3 separate regions of the Homo sapiens genome follow, and all the other regions are linked to region 3. Evidence: promoter capture Hi-C in human tissues and cell types (Jung and others, 2019). All regions are on one chromosome and are shown on one strand. The core of a region is centred on a gene start or on the middle of the fragment in contact, and the rest is flanking DNA. Distances in the headings are between cores, read along the strand shown. Region 1 has its middle 25 kb from the start of TMEM54. Region 2 has its middle 4.3 kb from the start of TRIM62. Region 3 holds the start of BSDC1 (BSD domain containing 1).

What was found. Contacts are between HindIII fragments. The study calls those that stand out against the background at their distance.
Region 1: a fragment that was not itself captured here is called in contact with the fragment with the promoter of BSDC1 in region 3 in 1 of the 25 tissues and cell types used here (spleen).
Region 2: a contact is called between a fragment that was not itself captured here and the fragment with the promoter of BSDC1 in region 3, in 1 of the 25 tissues and cell types used here (bladder).

Annotation. Positions count from the first base shown.
Region 1 is chr1:32,925,178-32,927,877 of GRCh38, forward strand. No RefSeq gene overlaps it. Among named protein-coding and RNA genes, the nearest start is that of TMEM54, 25 kb to the left of the region's middle. RefSeq lists an enhancer at 1-398. The HindIII fragment of the contact is 6,638 bases long and covers 1-2,700 here.
Region 2 is chr1:33,185,027-33,187,726 of GRCh38, forward strand. It overlaps a transcript of ZNF362 not described here. Among named protein-coding and RNA genes, the nearest start is that of TRIM62, 4.3 kb to the left of the region's middle. The HindIII fragment of the contact is 4,325 bases long and covers 1-2,700 here.
Region 3 is chr1:32,393,058-32,395,757 of GRCh38, forward strand. BSDC1 (BSD domain containing 1) reads right to left here and starts at 1,384. Exons shown (of 11, transcript NM_018045.8): 1 at 1,347-1,384; 2 at 1,023-1,083. The coding sequence starts at 1,357. RefSeq lists enhancers at 425-1,122, 1,110-1,399, 1,123-1,818, 1,690-1,769, 2,517-2,700. The HindIII fragment of the contact is 8,966 bases long and covers 837-2,700 here.

The sequences.
Region 1 (2,700 bases), core at 111-2,610, 530 kb after region 3:
GGGAGCCTCTGCCGAGGGAAAGGAGGCTGTTGTGTAAACTGGTGGAGGCGCGCCTGGCCCCTGGGCCCGGCAACCCGAAGAGACACGCCTGAGACCTCCTGTGTTAGAAAATCTGCACTCAGGACTTTGAAGAAGTCCTTGCCCAGTCGTCTTGGGCAATATCAACGACCAGACATAAGAAACTTAGACAGACACCAGACAGGACAATAGACACTAAACAAGACAATAGACACTGGGGTATATAAACAATTATGACAATTTTTATAGACAGACAAGGGGAGGGGGTCCCGTGATGGGATCAGTCAGATGCCCGCCTGGCTGCTCCCCCTGAGGGGACTTAGGCTCCTCTTCGCATTGGCAGACCGGTATAAACCCCCGGCTCAGATGGAGCTATGCCAGATGCTGCCTTAAGCCGTATGAGGTCGCCACGGAACAGTAGGTGAGGGCCCTCTCGAATTCCGTAGCTTTCACGGTGGAGCTACAAACTGGAAATTCAAGCGCAAGCCCTTGAACTCCACATACATGCACTGATTCACACAGAGTTTACAACAGGTTTTTTTTTTTAATTCCCGTTCTAAAACAGAGGTCTCCAGGAGACCTGAAAGAAGAAGAGATAGAGAAAGAGGGAGGGAGGGAGAGAGAGGAGAGAGAGAGAAAGAGAGAGAGCGAGAGAGAGAAGAGAGAGAGAGAGAGACAGACAGCCTAGACTTAACGGAGAGGCTGGCCTGCCAGAAACCAGGACTCAGTCCTCCAGCGTCCTAGAATATGGACAGAGTCACGGGAGGGCCCTCGTCAGGGCTGCTTCCCTCTCAGAGAGACACAGAGGCGCCTAACAGAAAACCAGGACTCCGTCCTCCAGCGTCCTGGAATGCGAGCAGAGTCAAAAAGGGACGGCCTTCATCAGAGCCACTTCCCTCCCAGAGAAACAGAGTCAGATCTGACTTACCTTCCCGGGACTAGAAACTGAGGACTTAGGAGTTGAATTTTTTGTGGGCACACACCGGTGGTCGATCCGTTCCCCTCCGGAAGATAGGGTCTTATGGGGCCCTGGAACGTCTTCAGGTGGCGCCTCCCCTGTAAGTCCGCCGTCTGTCCGGGGGAGCCTGGAACGAGTCGGGCTCTCACCCAGGGGCGAATTTCTCGCTGGGGCCTCCAAATGTTGTAACCAAGCGAGTTATAGAGAAACACCACATTTTGAAACTAATTCAGGAGTCTTTTATTACATGGCGACCGAGAGATGGCTAGAGCTCAAAATTCTCTCGGCCCCGAAGAAGGGGCTAGATTTTCTTTTACACTTTGGTTTAGAGAGGGGACGGGGAGCCTAGCTGTAGCAATCTTACAGAAGTAAAACAGGCAAAAAAAAAAAAAAAAAAAAAAAAAAAAGTTAAAAAGACAAATGGTTACAGGAAAACAAACAGTTCCAGGTGCAGGGGTTTTAAATTCATCACAAGCTGATAGGTGCGGGGGCTCTGGGTGCTATCTGCTGGACACAAATGCAGGGGCTTTAGGGTACCATCACCTGGGCGAATTCCTGGGAATCGCGGACATAGCTTGCCACAGTACCTTATCAGTTAATTGCACTCTTTGATATGCTGAGAGTCAGCTTGCACAAGTCCTTGAGGAAGGGGGTGGGTAAGGAGCCCTTGATGTCTTGCAAAGGAAGGAGCCAAATGGAGTCCATCTCGCTTTCTCAGCTAAGAGAGAGTCAATCAACTTAATACAAGTTACGGTATCACAAGAACATTTGAAATTTACTCTTCAAATGATGTACATTTGAAATGTACAATCATATACTATTGTATTAGGCCATTCTCAAATTACTATAAAGGAATACCTGAGACTGGATAATTTATAAAGAAAACAGGTTTAATTGGCTCATGGTTCTGTAGGCTGTGCAAGCATGGTACCTGGCATCTGCTTGGCTTCTGGGGAGGCCTCAGGAAGCTTTTATTCATGGTGGAAGGCAGAGCACTTAATACTGGTGAAAGCCAGAGAAATAGAGAGGTGGGGGAGGTGCCACACACTTTCAGTCAACCAGATCTCTAGACTCACTATTGTGAGGACAGCATCAATCCGTGAAAGATCCACCCCATGATCCAATCACTTCCCACCAGGCCCCATCTCCAGCACTGGGGATTACAATTCAACCTGAGATTTATATGGGCACAAATATCCAAACTCTATCAACTATTATTAACTATATTCACCATGCTGTGCAATAGATCTCAAAACAAACAAACAAACAAACAAACAAACAAACGTATTCCTCCTGAGGTCTTGTACCCTTTGACCATCATTTTCCCTATTCCCCTCAGCCCTCAGCCTCTGGTAACCACCATTCTACTTTGTTTCTATGGATTCAATTGTTTTAGATTCTACATGCAAGTGGTAACGTGGTATTAGTCTGTGCCTGGCTTATTTCACTTAGCATAATGTTCTCCAGCTCCATCCATGTTGTTGCAAATAACAGAATTTCTTTCTTTTTCAAGGCTGAATAGTATTCCATCATTTATAAATACATTTTCTTTATTTTTTCATCCATTGATGGGGTAGACTCCAACTTGTATGCGGAATGTTAGCTGCATGGGAGTCTGGGAAATAGTTTTTATCTTTGCAGCCTCTGCAGTATGAGGAAGTGTTTGGAATGGATGTTGAAAGTCAGTTCACCATGTCTACACAGTCTATCTTTTTGGACTTTTA
Region 2 (2,700 bases), core at 69-2,568, 790 kb after region 3:
CGCCTCTGCCTCCCAAAGTGCTGGGAATACAGGCATGAGCCACTGCGCCCAGCCAATTTTGCAGCTGTTTTTAGAAGAGGCTCTGGTACTATTTTACTCTATTGTCTAAATCCTTTCAGTAGATAGTCTTAATATGTAGGTCTAATCTCCTCCAAAGGACATAGTATGTGGTTTTCTCTGGCTGAAAGTCACAGACTCTTTTTTTTTTCTTTTGAGATGGAGTCTTGCTCTGTTGCCCAGGCTGGAGTGAAGTGGTGCAATCTTGGCTCACTGCAACCTCCACCTCCCAGCCTCAAGCAATTCTTGTGCTTCAGCCTCCCGAGTAGCTGGGATTACAGGTGCCCGCCACCACGCCAAGCTAATTTTTGTATTTTTAGTAGAGAGGGGGTTTCACCATGTTGGCCAGGCTGGTCTCAAACTCCTGACCTCAAGTGATCTGCCTGCCTTGGCCTCCCAGAGTGCTGGGATTATAGGTGTGAGCCACCGTGCCCGACCCAGTCTCTTCTCTTTCACTTTACTTCCCAGTGTTCAGTCCTTTTATCCTCTGAGCAGTTCTTCTCTTGACCTTATTCCATCTCCATTAAGATGCAGAACACTAAAACTGTTGATTATCTTTACATTTGGCAAGTCATTGCTCTCTCCACATCTGATGTGGTTGAGTGGTCTGAACTAAGACTTAGAGATCCTGACTGCAGTGTATGCCATCTGCTTCCATTCATACTCCAGAAATTAACATCAGGAATTTTTTTTTCTGGAAAGCTATCCAAGAGCTATTGTTGAGTGAGAAAAAGAAAAGAAAGACCCAAATACACTGACACATAGACACCCACAGACTTAGACACAATCACAGGCATTATTTGCATAACAAAAATTCTATAGAACTATATTCTAATTGTGTTCTTTTGTGGGCTGGGATTATGGGGGACTTTAACTTTTACATTAGATAGCTCTGTTTATTATATATATTTTTGTAATCAGAAAAAATAAAGAAAATTGATCCTCATTATTTATGGATTCCATATTTGCAAAATCACCTACTTCTAAAATTTATTTGTAACCTTCAAATCAATACTTGAGGCACAATTGCTATTATTTGTGGACATACTTATGTGCAGTGGTGAAAATCTTGACTTACCCACACATATGTTCCCAGCTGAAGGTGAACAAAGGGACACCCTGCCTTCTTGTCTCAGCTGTCATAGTGTAAACAAGTATTCTTTTTGTGACTTATTTGGTGCGAACCGTTCTCATTTTTTGTGCCTTTTTGTTGGTGATTTTGCTATTTAAAATGGCCCCAAGCATTGTGCTGAAGTGCTCTCTGGTGTTCTCAAGCACAAGAAGGCTGTGATGTGCCTTAAGGAGAAAATACGTGTGCTTGATAAGCTTTGTTCAGACATGAGTTACAGTAGTGTTGGCTGTGAGTTCAGTGCTAGTGAATCAACAATTTATATATTAAATAAGGGTCTCTAAGCAGAAACACACATAAAACAAAGTTGTGGCTGGGTCCAGTGGCTCACTCCTGTAATCCCAGCATTTTGGGAGGCTAAGGCAGGAGGATCACCTGAGGTCAGGAGTTTGAGACCAGCCTGGCCAACATGGTGAAACCCCCATCTCTACTAAAAAACAAAAATTAGCTGGGCGTGGTGGCGGGTGCTTGTAATTCCAGCTACTTGTGAGGTTGAGGCACGAGAATCACCTGAACCCAGGAAGTGGAGGTTGCAGTGAGCCAAGATCCCGCCACTGCACTCCAGCCTGGGCGACAGAGCGAGACTCCGTCTCAAAAAAAAAAAAAAAAAAAAGAAATGAGTTCACTCTCTAAATTAGTGCTTCTCAATGCATAGTCCTTGAGCCACATGTGTCTTAGCATGGGTTCTTCCAAGAACTGACCTTAAGATAAGGACTAAAGTGAAAATAGTTTATTTGGGGAGCATAAGTAACACTAATAGGGAAGTGGGAAGGTGATACAGGGAAGGGAAGGCAGCCCCATAAGGGTGCACTATTATCACAAAGGGGAACTGAAGATTTATCCTGCAGGGAAACTCTGGGAAATGGTACAAAACCTCAGAATGATCGATGCCTCAGAAGCATCCCACCCAAAGGGTGAGGGAGCTGGGGTATTTATACACCATGTTTGAGTGTTGAGGCTGCTCCCTGGTGGTGTTTAATTCTTTGGCACTTGTGAACTGTGATGTGTACAGTCAGCTCTCTGTAGTTCTGGGAAAATGATCCCTTAGCTACCATGTGGATGCTGGCAGTTGGAAGTCTTGGGAATACATTGACAGGTTTGAGGGACAATGGCAGGGCATTGACAGTATGTGTCACAGTTCACCCTTGCACCTGCTCAGATAAACTTGCATTCATATTAAGTTTCATGTTCTGTCACTGCTTCTTTGGGTGGTGGAAAGTCACGATTTGTTACAAGAAGAGAGGAGAAGAAGGAAGAGGAAGAGGTAGAAAGGATAACAGATAAGAGGAGGGACAATCTCCAGACCCCACTGCTGTAGTTGGTCCTAAAGTGTAACTGATGCTCAGCTTCCGACTCTACTACCCTTTCTAGATGCCCCTCACCTGGTCCAGCAGGGGTCACTTACTCCTGCCTGTTCAGAATCTCCTTTCTTAGCTTGCTGGTCTGCTGTCATGAGGATCCCAAAATTACCAGAGGCAGATATAATTTTAGGTTTAGTAAAACCACAATTATGT
Region 3 (2,700 bases), core at 134-2,633:
TGTCTCAAAACAAAACAAAAATACTCCCAGAGTAGAGGACTTATTTAGGTGAGGTCAGAAGCTTCCTGGAGTTGGCCCTGAAGCAGGACTCATCCCAATTGCTTGAGGTAAATAGTAATCAACTTTTCCCACAATTCAGTTGGGCTGATTTTGACAAATAAGCATGAAATGAAACAGGAATACACATTGGCAAATTACCCACTGGCACAGCCAAATATCACTCATCCCACAGAGATTGTTCAGCAAGAAGGCCTTCCACTCTCTGGTGATTAATCTCTCTCTCTCTACTGCCCGTTGCATAGCCCCTACTTAGAACTCATCAGGCACCAGTGTGTATGGCTCATGCTCATCTCTGGCTTGGGTTCTTGCTTTTCATCCTGTCTAGGCAGGGTTGCCCTTGATGAGGTTCCTTCTCCACAGGGGCCTTCCCTGGTGAGTTACTGACTAACCAGAACAGACAAGGTGCCCCTGTACTTTCCTTTCACAGAACTTACCACAACGGTAACTAAACAACTATTTGTTTGGCTACTCGGTTAATGGCTGTCTCTCCACTAGACTGTGAGCTTTGTAAGGCCCAGGATTACATCTGTTTGGCTGAAGTCTGTATCCTCAAGACCTATCAGAGTGCTGGTTGTCGCATATACTCTAATATTTGAATGACTATACGAGTAAGTTTTTTTACTGCTAGAATCTTTTCCTTCAAGACCTGTATCAAATGCTCTCTCTTTCACGAAGAAACTGAATTTCCTGAGCTGGAATAAATTGCTCCTTCCTATGGATTCCTACAAAACGTTCGTTAACTCCAGCCTTTAAAACCATCTTTATTTCACTGTGGCTAGTATCACACTGGTTTGCGTCGAGGTCTGTCTTCCCGTGGACCGGTAGAGGCTAAAAGAAAGGCCCAGGTCAGCCTCATCCTTGAGACTTAGCGCCCGCAAAAGTTGGGCGGGGCTGGTTGGACCAGGTTGCATTGAGGCGGCGCAGGGCCCTGCTGAGGGAAGAAGGGCACGGGCCCGGCTTACCTTCTCTTTGACTGCTTGGTAGCTCTGCTGCAGCCAGCTCCGCCACCATCCCACGTCCTCCCTGTGGAAGACAGACACATCTGGCAGCACCGCGGTGCGATTCCTGCCCGCCCAAGGATCCGGTTTGTTCCCCGCTCAGATGTACCCTGCGGGCCGAGGCTTCGCAGACCGCTTGCCCACCCCCTCACAATGCGACTCCACTCTGCCCTTTCAGATCAGTCCACGCCCCCGCTGATCTCACGTTCCCCACCGGGACTCTCGCCCAGCACCCCAACCCTGGGAGAATTCAGGCCCCAACGCCTAGGAGCAAAACGACAAGCTCACCCTTCCGCCATCTTGCCTGCATGACATCACCACTATTTACTGACCTTTGACTTCCGACACGGCACCGCCCCCTCAAGGACCGCCCCCGAGGCGCTCGGCCCAATCCTCGCGCCGGCACCGCCCTCAGCCCAATCCCCTCCCTGCGCCATCATTAGGTCCCGCCTCCCTGAACTCTATCCAGTCTCTGTCCCGAGTTCGCCCTCAAACTCCGCCCCTGAACTCTCAGTTCAATCGTCATTCAGTCCTGTCCTCAGGCTCCACCAAGCTTGACTCTTTGTCACTGTCCGCAAACGTCGGGTACGGTGGCCTCTATGGACGATGATCAGCCGACAAGCTGGACTGCGGAGAGCTGGGAGCAGAGGGGAGGAGGAGAGATAGCTCGAACGTCAGGATCCCAGAGCGCAGGGTTAGGACCGCCCCCCTTTGTGAAACCAGCTGCGTAGAGGCTGCTTTGTGTCTCTTTGGGCTAATTCAATAAGCCCATATTGCGGGGCTGTGGCCCAGAGTTTGGAGGAATGTGAATAATTCAGAGGCGACTTAGATGCAGCCTTTGGAGGGCTTACGGGTTAATGGGAGACACACACATTCAGTAATCTCAACTTTCGGTGGCCCAGCTCAGAACAACGCCAGGTGGAGGTGGTCTGGAGAAATCCGGAGACCGCCTGGATTGAGTTCTACTGCGATTGGAAGGGAGATTCCACAGCCCACATACTTTGGACTTTAATTAAGGTCAGCCCCTCCACGTGTGCGGTAGATCCCATCGCCTCTTGTTTGCTTAAGGACATAGATCTAGTAATCCCCCCTTCATCTCTTTTCCCTCTGATGACTGCATTTATCCTTGTCATCATCCGTACTGCTGTTTCTCCCATCTCAAAGGCAAACAAAAACCAGCCCTCTCTATATCCCTCACCGTTTCCCTACTCCCCTTTACAGCAAAAGCGTTGCCTACTCACAGTCTGCAACTCCCCTCTCCTCCCATTCTCTCTTGAACTCACTGCAGTTAGGTTTTTGCCTCTCAGACAATCCTTTGAAATAACTTTCTTTTATTTATTTAATTTTATTTAATTTTATTTATTTTATATTTATTTGTAGCTCTGCTGCAGCCAGCTCCGCCACCATCCCACGTCCTCCCTGTGGAAGACGGACACATCTATTTTATTTATTTATTTATTTTTGGTCCTCCCTGTGGAAGACGGAAACATCTATTTTATTTATTTATTTATTTTGAGTCAGAGTCTTGCTCTGTTGCCCGGGCTGGAGTGTAGTGGTGCAATCTCAGCTCGCTGCAACCTCTGCCTCCCGGGTTCAAGCGATTCTCCTGCCTCAGCCTCCCGAGTATCTGGGATTACAGTTG